3 separate regions of the Homo sapiens genome follow, and all the other regions are linked to region 3. The links are contacts of gene promoters, found by promoter capture Hi-C in blood cells and fetal thymus (Javierre and others, 2016). All regions are on one chromosome and are shown on one strand. The core of a region is centred on a gene start or on the middle of the fragment in contact, and the rest is flanking DNA. Distances in the headings are between cores, read along the strand shown. Region 1 overlaps ZNF704 (zinc finger protein 704). Region 2 has its middle 67 kb from the start of LINC02986. Region 3 holds the start of PAG1 (phosphoprotein membrane anchor with glycosphingolipid microdomains 1).

What was found. Contacts are between HindIII fragments. The CHiCAGO score rates a contact against its expected background, and 5 or more counts as called.
Region 1: a contact is called between a fragment that was not itself captured here and the fragment with the promoter of PAG1 in region 3, in 1 of 17 cell types (M2 macrophages). The highest score is 6.5, in M2 macrophages.
Region 2: a contact is called between a fragment that was not itself captured here and the fragment with the promoter of PAG1 in region 3, in 1 of 17 cell types (fetal thymus). The highest score is 5.2, in fetal thymus.

Annotation. Positions count from the first base shown.
Region 1 is chr8:80,679,738-80,683,588 of GRCh38, reverse strand. All of the region lies in intron 4 of ZNF704 (zinc finger protein 704), which reads left to right. Among named protein-coding and RNA genes, the nearest start is that of LINC02986, 140 kb to the right of the region's middle. The HindIII fragment of the contact is 4,455 bases long and covers 1-3,851 here.
Region 2 is chr8:80,605,114-80,608,767 of GRCh38, reverse strand. No RefSeq gene overlaps it. Among named protein-coding and RNA genes, the nearest start is that of LINC02986, 67 kb to the right of the region's middle. The HindIII fragment of the contact is 2,998 bases long and covers 509-3,506 here.
Region 3 is chr8:81,109,735-81,113,393 of GRCh38, reverse strand. It overlaps PAG1 (phosphoprotein membrane anchor with glycosphingolipid microdomains 1), which reads left to right and starts at 1,326. Exons shown (of 9, transcript NM_018440.4): 1 at 1,326-1,803. RefSeq lists a silencer at 1,191-1,320 and an enhancer at 1,811-1,880. The HindIII fragment of the contact is 5,316 bases long and covers 1-3,659 here.

The DNA.
Region 1 (3,851 bases), core at 652-3,151, 430 kb after region 3:
GAGATCAGTTTAACTTAAATAGCAGAGGAAACGTTTGAGGCCAAGTTAATTCAGTGAATCCATATTTCCTTCAGCCCACAGAGGAGAAAAACGTGGAGAGAAAATAATCAGACATAGCTACAGCTATGTGGCAGGGTGGGAGCAAGGGTGCAGAAAGTTCAGAAAGAAATGGAGAGCAGAGATAGGAACTCCAGGCTGTCTGCCGGAGAGCTTACTTCCCACATGAAGTATCCGTCACCCATAAGGAACCTGCAGCCAAGGTAGGTGAGAGTGTGAGAAGGGAAATGAAAGGCTTCTCTATCCTAGCTCTGGAGGTCAGCCAGCCAACTTTGTCAAGCCCAGGTCTAGCAGAATTTTTCCTCTGGGATTTCAAGACAGACTGGCAGAACTTCCAAGCTCAGAGAAAAACCAGGTTGTGTGAGCCAGGACTCTTGACTTTGGGGAGGTGCAATTTCCGTCATGACCACAAGGTGATGCAGTGACCCTAAATACAGCCATTCGGGGAGTTCGTGGGAGAAAATGAATTCTATGGAAGGCCAAAGAGTTAACCATCAATTCCACAAGACCCCAAGAAAGTCAAGAAGCGCTGATCAGAAATGATTTGTGTGCCCTTTCCATGCCAGATCCCTGATTCTGTCAGATTCTGGATTCTGTGCATTCCAAAATTGTCATGCCAGCTTTAGGACTTACATGACTTAAGCAAGTCACTTGGCCTCTTCAGCATCAGTTTCCTCATCTGTAAAATAAGGAAAATGGTGGCACCATATTGATGTGGCTGTTGTCAGGAATATACGAGAGGCCCTGTAAAGAGCAATAAATGTTAGCTGCTAATACTTTGCCTTTCCTCCTCCCCCCTCCCCCACCGCCGTTTGGCAACTGCCTGAATGGGGAATTTGAGAAGCATAGGTGTGGAGAGAAGGGGGTGCTTGCCTCCACCCTCCACCCTGACCCACACTGACCGTGCCAATGCCACAGTGGCTCAGGATAACTCCAGATCCCTCAGCCACCCTGTGCTCAATTGGGTGTGCATTAGCCCCCCTGCAATGCACTGGGTGAGTGCAGCAAGGACAGTAGCAGAAATTGGGGGCATAAAAGGAAATCTGACTCAGGACTCTGCATTTCAGAACATTGGCAGCATCTCAGAGGCAATTTCTAAATTTCAGCCTTCATCATTTCCATTTATTTCACAGGTATGTGTCTTAACCATGAACAGTTGTACCTGTGTACTAGGAAGAACCTCAAGTTAGAGAAGAAAGCACTGAGTTAACATAAGGTGCTTCAGTAATAGTTGTACAGTAGCAAACAATTAATCATTTGCTCCACTCTGTATTTTTAATCTTCCAGAGCCAAAAAGCTATGAATCACTTTAAATTGTGAATGGCTGCTCCAAGAAGAAAACAAACCCGTAAAACCCTCACGAATAAGCATGTTGCCAGTCTCTCTGCTGACTTAATTCCTAACCCACTAATTTTGAGCAGAGAGTGCCTCTTGCAAAAAGAACGGCTGTTCCAGAAATAGATCCATCTGTTAAAACTGCTGGGGAGGGCGATGCTAAGAACAGCAGCTTGGATCAACTGCATGGATTTCATGGTGATGGTACATACAGCATTGTCAGCCAGGGCAGGGAGCTGATTGGCCTCATAGAGAAAATTCAGGATAAAGAGGAGTGATATCTAGGTAACTTAGTGACAAGATCTTAGAATAACCTGCCATGCAGTATATAGGCTCTGGGACATTGGAGTTCGAAGGACTTTGGAAATCTTCTAGCCCAGTCTCAATCTTTCCAAGTTAAAGGACTACTCAGTATGTCTAGAAATGTCCAGACGTCCCCAAAGATGAGATGCACTTTTAGAATTCATTGATTGAGGAAGCACAGAATGACTAGGGATTTCTGTTAATTCAGAAATCGTTTTGTTGTTTGGTGTTGCTGTTATAGAAATCATTTAAAATCAACTTTATTAGGTATAATTTTCACAGAATAAAATGAACCCATTTTAAGTATACCATTTAGTGAGTTTTGACTGTCTCTACCTGAGTAACCACCACTCTAACCAAGGCCAGCACTCCTCATACGCCGCTTCAGTCAAAGGCACCACCAAGCCCCAGACAGGCAACCAACCACTGGTATAACTTTCATCACTATAGATTAATGCTGCCTGTTGTAGAATTTCAAGTAAATGGAATTATACAGTGTGTATTTTTAGTATACAAAATACCAAATGTTGGCAACAGGAACTCTCATTTATTGCCGGTAGAAATGTAAAATGGTACAACCACTTTGTAAAACAGTTTGGCAGTTTCTTAGAAAGTTAAATATACACTTACCATATGACCCAGCAATTCCACTCTTAGGTATGTATTTACCTAAGAGATAAGAAAACACATGTCCACAAAAAAACTTGCAGACAAATGTTTATAGCAGCTTTATTCATTATCACCCCAAACTGGAAACAACCCAAATGCCCATCAACAGGTACCTGGATAAACAAATTGCATTATAACCATACAATGGGATACTTCACCACATAAAAGGGAGCAAACTACTGATACAAGAAACAGTGAGTGAATCAAAAAAAACATTATGCAGAGGGGGAAAAAAAGCCAGGCACAAAAGAATACATTCTGGGTTATTCCATTTACAGAACTGTTTTGTTAATTTTGTATACACGTATCACCACAGCATCTATAAACAGCACATGGAGGTGGGAGGTGTTTCATCCGTGCTTGGTATACATTGAATTCACCTGTTACTTTGTATTAACCCCACACACCTTGAAGATCCAAAATCTCTACTCTCATTCAGTCCCCTCATCTTACAAATAAATAAATAAAGCCCCCAAAAGGTAAGGCAACATGTATACTGTGTAACCGTGAGGTAGCATGAGGTAACATAGCTGCTTCTGGAACCCCTACCAGCTTCTAGGAAGTTACTAATTTTTAAATACACGAGCGCATTTACTGATCTTTTGGCACCTGCTGGGGATCTGTGTGGACCTCTTGACCCTGAAAGAGCCATTGGAGCCGCTGCCAAGGTGTGTGGGTTTTCATGAGACAGGCAGAGGAAGTTTGTATAATGCAGCCAACTCACCTGCACAGAATAACTTGGCCCTCTCTGTCCGTCAAGGTCCCTGGTCCTCTCTGGAGAGGCTTGGATGTGTAAGCCCCTGTCCCTGCCCTGCCATTCCAAAACCACACACACAAGTCACAATACAAAAAAAAAAAAAATACCTGAAGATCCTTTTAGTCACCTCAGAACATGACGTTAACTCCAGGCTGCTGACTGATAAAGTGACGTTCATGTGCTTTCTAGAATATAGCTTTAGTTGGACTTACACGTCATATGCATGTTATACAATACTTTGAAGCACTTCAAAAATGTTACATAATTCTTCAAATTCCAGCCATGTTTCCACTCTTGGAACTGAAGGTGACCTTCAGCAGTCACTATATCAATCCTAAGTATCACTCTGGGTTCTGTCAAGAAAATAGAAGCTACTTCGTATATTCCAAGTATGAAACCATTTTTTAGAAACAGGATTGAGGCTTACTATTGGTAGGGCAAGCAGAGAGAAAATCAGGGACACCTTGGCCAAAGGTCTCAGCCAATAGACCCAAGGAAGTTCTAGAGACAGTTCAGAAGCTGCTGCAAAGGCGAAAATCTCTGGGAAGTTCTCTCCAACCATTGTGGCCCACAGCATCAATGTTGAGAAATTCTAAAGAGTTTGTCTGGAAGCTGCTATGCATCTCACATCAGGCATATGTGAGATTCCAGGAGTCTGCTCACGACTGCGTGGAGCTTCAGCTCCTCCTGGGCCTGTTGCGGGTGTTAAATAAAGTACACGTGGAAGCTG
Region 2 (3,654 bases), core at 758-3,257, 510 kb after region 3:
TTCTGCAGTTCATCCCTCTTGTCTCCTGAAGGACTTACCTTCTAGAGCCAAACTACTTTGAAGTATTTGTTCTGTCTTGCAGTTCACCTTCCAAAAAAGGTAGTTGTCAAAGTGGGGCCTCTAACCTGTCAGTATCAGCATCACCTGAGACTTGTTAGAAATACTGATACTTGGGCTTTGGTGGCTCACGCCTGTAATCCCAGCACTTTGGGAGGCTGAGGTAGGAGAATTGCTTGATGCCAGCCTGGGCAACATGGCAAGATCCCTATCTCCACAAAAGAAAGGAAATTAGCCAGGCATGGTGGTGCATGCCTATAGTCGTGTCCTAGCTACTCAGGAGGCTGAGGCAAGAGCATTGCTTGAGCCCAGGAGTTCGAGGTTACAGTGAGCTATGATCACACCACTGCACTCCAGCCTGGGCAACAGAGTAAAAGTTTCTCTCTAAAACAAATTAAAAATTAAATTTAAGAAAAAAAGCCCTCTGGTGTTCCTGATGTATGCTAAAGCTTGACAGCTGTGGATCTATGGCTGAAACTCCTCAATGTTCCTCCACACCACCTCTGAAGTGTCCAAGGCAAGGTGGATAGCTCACCAGTACCCTAACGAGAGAGCTCGCTGGAGCAGGCTGGAGGCCGCTGTCCTCAGCCCTCTCCCGATCCTATTTTTATTAATGACTTGGATGGAAGTACTGAGGGCACGCTGATCTCATTAACAGATGACAGATAGCTGGATGGGGTAAAGGAGATGTTGAATGATGACATCAGGACCCAAAGACACAAAGTGACGGTCCAAATCTATCAAGACGAAACTTAATAGGGGATATTAGTTAGAATTAGATTCCACTTTGAGTGACAGAAAACCCAAAATAGCACTGGCTTATTAAGATAGAAATTTATTTCTCATTCACATAAATGAACTCTGGAAGTATCAGGCCACAGTCAATGTGGTGGCTCTGTTCCCTGGAGTTCTGAGGATTCAAGCTCCCCATCCAACTCACTACCATCCTACTCATCCAACTCATCCACCATTCCTACGGCCTCTTCCTCAAGCTGAAGATGGAGACATCCATGTTCCAGATAGCACAACGGAGAAAGGTTGGAGAACAGCGTCCATTCTTGCTGGTTTTTGAGGGTTCCACATGCTACTGCTGTGCTTCTGCTTGCATCCTATTGGCCAAAGTTGTGCCTATTGGCACAGAGGCAATGGACACTAAGAATTGTAGTCTATTTGTCTAAGCAGCTCAGCTAAAAATGCTATTACATGGACAAAAGAGAGAGCAAATATTGGGACACAATAAGCAGTCTCTGCCAACCAAAGCAAAAATAAAGCCTGTCGGGCTGGGTGTGGTGGTTCATGCATATATTCCCAGCACTGTGGGAGATCATGGTGGGAGGATCACTAGAAGCTAGGAGTTCAAGAGCAGCCTGAGCAACGTAGCAAGACCCTGTCTACAAAAACAATAAAAATCAGCCAGGTGGCCAAATGTGATGGCTCACACCTGTAATCCCAGCACTTTGGGAGGCTGAGGCAGGCAGATCCCAAGGTCAAGAGATCGAGACCATCCTGGCCAACACAGTGAAACTCCGTCTCTACTACAAATACAAAAATTAGCTGGGCGTGGTGGCGCACTCCTGTAGTCCCAGCTACTCGGGAGGCTGAGGCAGGAGAATCACTTGAACCAAGGAGGTGGAAGTTGCCATGAGCCAAGATCACACCACTGCACTCCAGCCTGGTGACAGAGTGAGACTCGGAGACTCTGTCTCAAAACCAAAAAAAAAAAAAAAATTAGCCAGGCATGTTGGCATGCACCTATAGTACCAGCTACTCAGGAGGCTGAGGCAGGAGGATCTCCTGAGCCCAGGAGTTTAAGGCTGCACTGAGCTACGATCATGCCACTGCACTCCAGCCTGGGTAACAGAGTAAGATCCTGTCTCAAAGCAATTAAAAATAAATAAACAAAAGCCCTTCATATAATCCCTAAAATGCAAACGCCCCTCCAAGGTTTTGGTGTTAAAGAAGGAGGTAGGCAGTAATAACCACACAAGCAGTCCTCAGCTGTTCCCGTGCGAAGACAGAAAACCCAAGCCATACTGGGTTTTAAGTAAAAAGAGAAGATGTGGGATACATAACTGACATTTCCAGAAACAGTATTAGCTTCAGGAATGTCTCAAATGATGTCAGCAAAATTTGACTCTCTTCCTAGCTCAGCTCCACAGCCTCCCATGCTAGGTTTATTCCTGGGCTATACATGGTGGCAAGATGTCCATCAGCAGGTCCAGGTTCCCATCTCCTGGACCTTTGGTGAGAGCAGGGAGAGAGTCAAGTTCACGCTCCTCTACCCTCACCTCCACTCATTCTTCAGGTCAGCTTCCTCCAGCAAGGTGGTTCTCAACCCTGGCTATGCATTTTTAGATTCCTGATGCCCAGGATCCCATCCCCAAATCTGGTTTTATTGTTTCACGGTAGGGGACTGGCACTTTAAAAATCTCCCCAGTGATTCTCTGCTGATTCTCCTGAGCATCCAGGGTGGAGAACACCTGCTCTCACATTGTGGGAAAATGGACTCTTTCCCTCTCTGGAGTCACTTCCCGAGATGCTCTCTGTGGAGGTCATGCGTCTCCATCAAGTTCTGCCTCACCGTGGCCCCTTCACTGTACTGCTGGTCACCATGTCACCCCCTGCACCTGTGTTCCCTTCATGGGATCCAGCTTTTCTTTATGGGGCCTGAGGGAGAGAAAGCCAAGGAGGCACCTCTTGACTGTCCTACCCTTCCATCTCTCCAATCACCTGGTTATCAAGGTTGACTTTCTTTTATTGAAGGACTGGGGAAATTTTAAAAGGGAAATACCAGTAAGAAGAAAAATATTCTACATTTTGGGGCCATCTGCTCATAGTCTATAATGGAAATTGAGGACTAGGACTTGAGGAATGTCAACAATAAAAGCTCCATAGCAAGGATTAGCCCATCAAAGAAACCGTGAAGGATTAGCTAGAGAGGCCACAGGAAACCCACAAGAGCACAGACTTCTGGAAGAAAACAGAGGCTGGAAATGATCAGAGACTAAGTGACTTACTGCTCCATTCTTCTGTCTAGCGACCCTTACCTGTCATCCACACTGGTGACTACTTCTTTCAATGAAATACAAAATTCCAAATTTCACATGAAGCTCAAGTTACTACCTTTTGGCTGGGCATGGTGGCTCACGCCACTTTGGGAGGCCAAGGTGAGAGCGTTGCTTGAGCACAGGAGTTTGAGAGCAGCCTGAGCAATATAGCAAGATCCCCGTCTCAATTTTTTAAAAAGTTACTACCTTTTGACACGTTATGAGTAGATATTCAGATTTCTTTACAATAAAACAGGGGCTCATGAAAGGCTAGATCTTAAAAGATAGGGCTCCTCAAATCCCACAAATATTAAATCAGATGTCTGTGGTTCCCAAACTATGTGCTGAGGTACGCTGGGTCACTGTAGTGAAGAAGATGAGCACTGCAGGAGGTTTCAAGCTTTTGAGGGAAACAAGGTGACATCTGCCAGGCACTGTACAAATGCTACCATTAAGTTATTTGGACTTTAATAAACCAAAATGTTTTATATCTATATTTGTATATATATATGTGTGTGTGTGTGCATATATATAAAAATCTATATATATA
Region 3 (3,659 bases), core at 77-2,576:
TCTGAAGCAAGAGGCCAAGTCTGGTTCCTGGGTCCGCTTCCCCAATGGGCTTTTCCAAGCTGTAGGCTGAGTCTAAACTGTTTCCTCCCACATACCCTTCCCTCTGCGACACACTAACAACATCCCTTACTCCATCACTGTCTTCCTTACCCTCTCCTGATGAGCCTTCTTCCCCAGCCACCTTTAAGCTCCCATTAATGATATGTGTAACGAGTGTTCAATAGAGTGTGTGTGTGTATATTTAATGCCATTTATATGTTTTTTCTTGCTAAGTAATGCATCATAATTTTAGAAAATTGGGACTAGTCAGATAAAGCACCCGTTGGTTTAGAATCCCTGACTCAAAGTCAGATGTCCTGAGTTCTAGACTTGGTTTGTCTCCTTGTAAGTGCAAAAGTTTATTCCCAATTCCAGGTTGCTAGTGTAAACTTGAAGTTTGGCCCAAACAAAACCCCTATCAGATTTATTTAGAGTGTTGATGCCAAATGGAATTCTAGAAGCCCACCTTTGCCAGGGGCTGAGCCAGAACCACTATCACTGGGGGTACGGCCTGGGCATTTGTTCTGCGTTTTTTATAAGCCCCTCGGGTGACTGTCAGACAGGCCAACTGTTTCAGAAGCTCTGCTCCAGGCTCTAGATCACACGTTAAGTAGCAAGGATGGGGGTCTGGACCTCCAGTATTGGCATCCTCCGAGAGCTTGTTAGAAAGGATGTCTCCCTCATTATCCCAGGCCTACTGAATCTGAATCTTGCATCTCATCACAATCCGCAGGAGATTCTGTCACACACTGAGGGTTTGAGAAGCACTGCTGTACCTTGGTATCTTTAGATACCTACTGATACCTGGGTGGGCCCCACCCAGACATTGTCCTGTACTTGTTCTGGGATGCGTCCGGGGCAAAGGGTTCTTACAAGCTCCCCAAGTTATTTTAATGCACAGCCACAATAGAAGATCACTGTCCCCCAAATGGCAACCCTTTACGGTTAAGCTGTAACCTGAATTAAATTGGCTTTTGTGGGCTCCCCAGGGACCTTAAGGACCGCTTAAACGGTGCTGTTTAAAGGACAATGGGCTCCTGGGACAAGTTCAACCACAGAGCTTTGGGTTCATAAAATCAGGGCAGGGAAGACTTCCTGCATCCTCCCGCGAGCAAGCCAGGCCCCGCGCCGGTCCTCACCCGTGTGCACCCCCAGCCCGGCCCCGCCCGGCTCGCCCCCTCCCGCCCCGCGGCCCGCCCCTCCTCCCCCGTGACGTGCCGCTGCGGCCAGGATCATGCGCACTCGCGCCCCGCTCCCCGCGCGGCTGCTCCGCCTCGGCGCCTGTCATTCTCCGCGGCGCGGCGGCGAGTGCTGGCTGCGGTACCCTCCCGCTCGCTTGTCCGTCTGCGCGCCCGCGATGTGACCAGCCGACTGGGGGCGGGCTGGCGGCTCTGCCTGCGGCAGCGCATCGGTTTTTCTCCTGGCAGGTCCCTAATTGAGCCGTGATTCCCTTGGAGCCAGAGACACCCACCAGGGGCTCGGAGCGCCGCGCTCCGGGGCTGGAGGCAGCTGCAGCGCTCGGGTCCGCGCGGCCGGGTGCAGTAGCCTCAGTCCCAGCCGCCGCCTCGCTGAGTCGTGTGCCCTGGCGAATGCCCGGCGCCCGGCACAGCTGAGCCAAGGCGACTGGTGCAGAGCGGCGGCGCCTGGTCCTGCACTTGCCGCTGCTGCCGGGCTGTGCCGGGGCGGCGGCGCTGCGCGCCGGAGTTTGCAGAGGCTGCCTCCGAGCGCCGTCCGCCAGGAAGACTCCCTGCCTCCTGAGTCCCAGTAAGTTGACTGTAGTTTCTGAAGTTGGAGGGAGCCGTGGGAAGGAGAGGTTCGTTTTTATCTTCTTGTGGGAAGCCGAGGGTGGCACCTCTTGTTAACAGAGTTCCAGCTCGAGGAGGGAGTGCGGGGTGCCAAGAAGGGGACAAGGCAGCTGGAAGGTCTGGAGTCCAGGGCTGGCTGACCTCAGCATCTCACGAATGTGCCAGTTGGAAATATGCTGGGAGAGGACAGGTACTCCTAGGGCATTTCGACTGCTGCGTGCTAATTATTCATTCCAAGCTCCTTGACTCTGTGTTTACGTTGGGGTGAAGGGGCTGGGCAGGGTCTTGTCACCTCCATCCTAATTCCTCTGGGGAGTGTGGCCAGCACTGCGATGGATCTTTGGGCGAGCCATTTCTTTCAGGCCTGCAGGCTTCCCGCGCATCCCGCTTTACTCTTCCCCTAGGCAGAAGTTGCCAACCTTTTCATAATTGGAGCCTAGTCCTTTAGGGAAAAAACAACTTATATGTCGACCCGGTGTTTTATGCCCTAAGGCAAATAAAACGAGCTCTGGGCGTGTGAATTCATACACTTTAAGAATGTAGGCAAGTCTCAAGAAATAGGATTCAGATAATGACACTTGGATTTCACCCTGATTGTCCTGCACCTCTTATGTAAGCCTCCCGGCTGGATAACTTTATCTCTGCAGTGGCTGCAGCTGTGGCCCTCCATTCCATTTGTTTAAAGTCCAATTGAACAGTATTTACTGAAAATGCTGACATGATATAGCGGCCTGAAGTCTGAAACAGAGTGCACTCTTCAAATTGGAGTGTCTTCTCCTAATAGGGAGCATGGGAGGAACAACCCACTATATTTTTCAAGGCAGCTCCAGGAATTAGACCCATAAATCATGTTTTAAAATAGCATGCATTGTGCAGAGAGCATGCAGAGGACCGCTTTTTGAACACATCCCCTTTGTTTTAGAAAAAGTGGAAATTGTTCATGCCAGACAATTGTTGAGTCTAAAAGTTAAGTGTACTGATGGGCCTAATTATCTTAATAAACAAAGAGCATGATTTATAGGTAGCTGCAGTGCCCTACTTTGAAGGATAGAAATCTTTAACCTTTCTTTCTCAGCTGTTCCCGAGAGATTCCTTTTAAGCAGAGCTATGGATTATCATCATTGATGTTTAATACCTGAGTTGGTTAAACTTGTAAAAGGAATAGTACTTTGAAGTACCATGCAGTACTGCTGTGTGACTGTTACACAGCGAATATTATAAATAAGAGGAATATTTGGAGTATTGGGTATAGATGTCATTAGTTTAACAAAATAGGTCATATTAAGACTTTCCTGCTAAATATATATACACATACATAAATGTTTAATTTGGACTTGAAATTATTGTTTAAACCAAAGCTCAGGGGTATGTTTTAATGTAAGATTTATTTACATAATCTTTGAAGAGAGAAGTGCATTTATTTATGGTATTTCAGCATGCAGAACAAGATGAACTAGTTATAGGCACCTTATTTAAAGTGTAAAGGGTTTTTTTTTAGGAATACTAAGAAAATACACAAAATGTTATTTCAGAAGTTGAAAAGTTAGTCACATCAACACATTGCGGTTTGTGAGAGCATCCAGTGCTTATCTCTAGAAGAGATTACATCCAAGCATGGAATCTCAAACAGATTGACCCATTAAGCCCTATTGCAGCCTGGTTAGGAGGACAGGCTATGGAGCCAGGCTGCCAGCTCTGGTACCATCTGTTTGAATCTAGGCAAGTAACCCAAAGTCTGTGCCTCAGTGTCTTCATCTGTACAATGGGGATGACAGTAGTAGTACCTACCCCACTGAACAGTAGTGAGAATTAAAT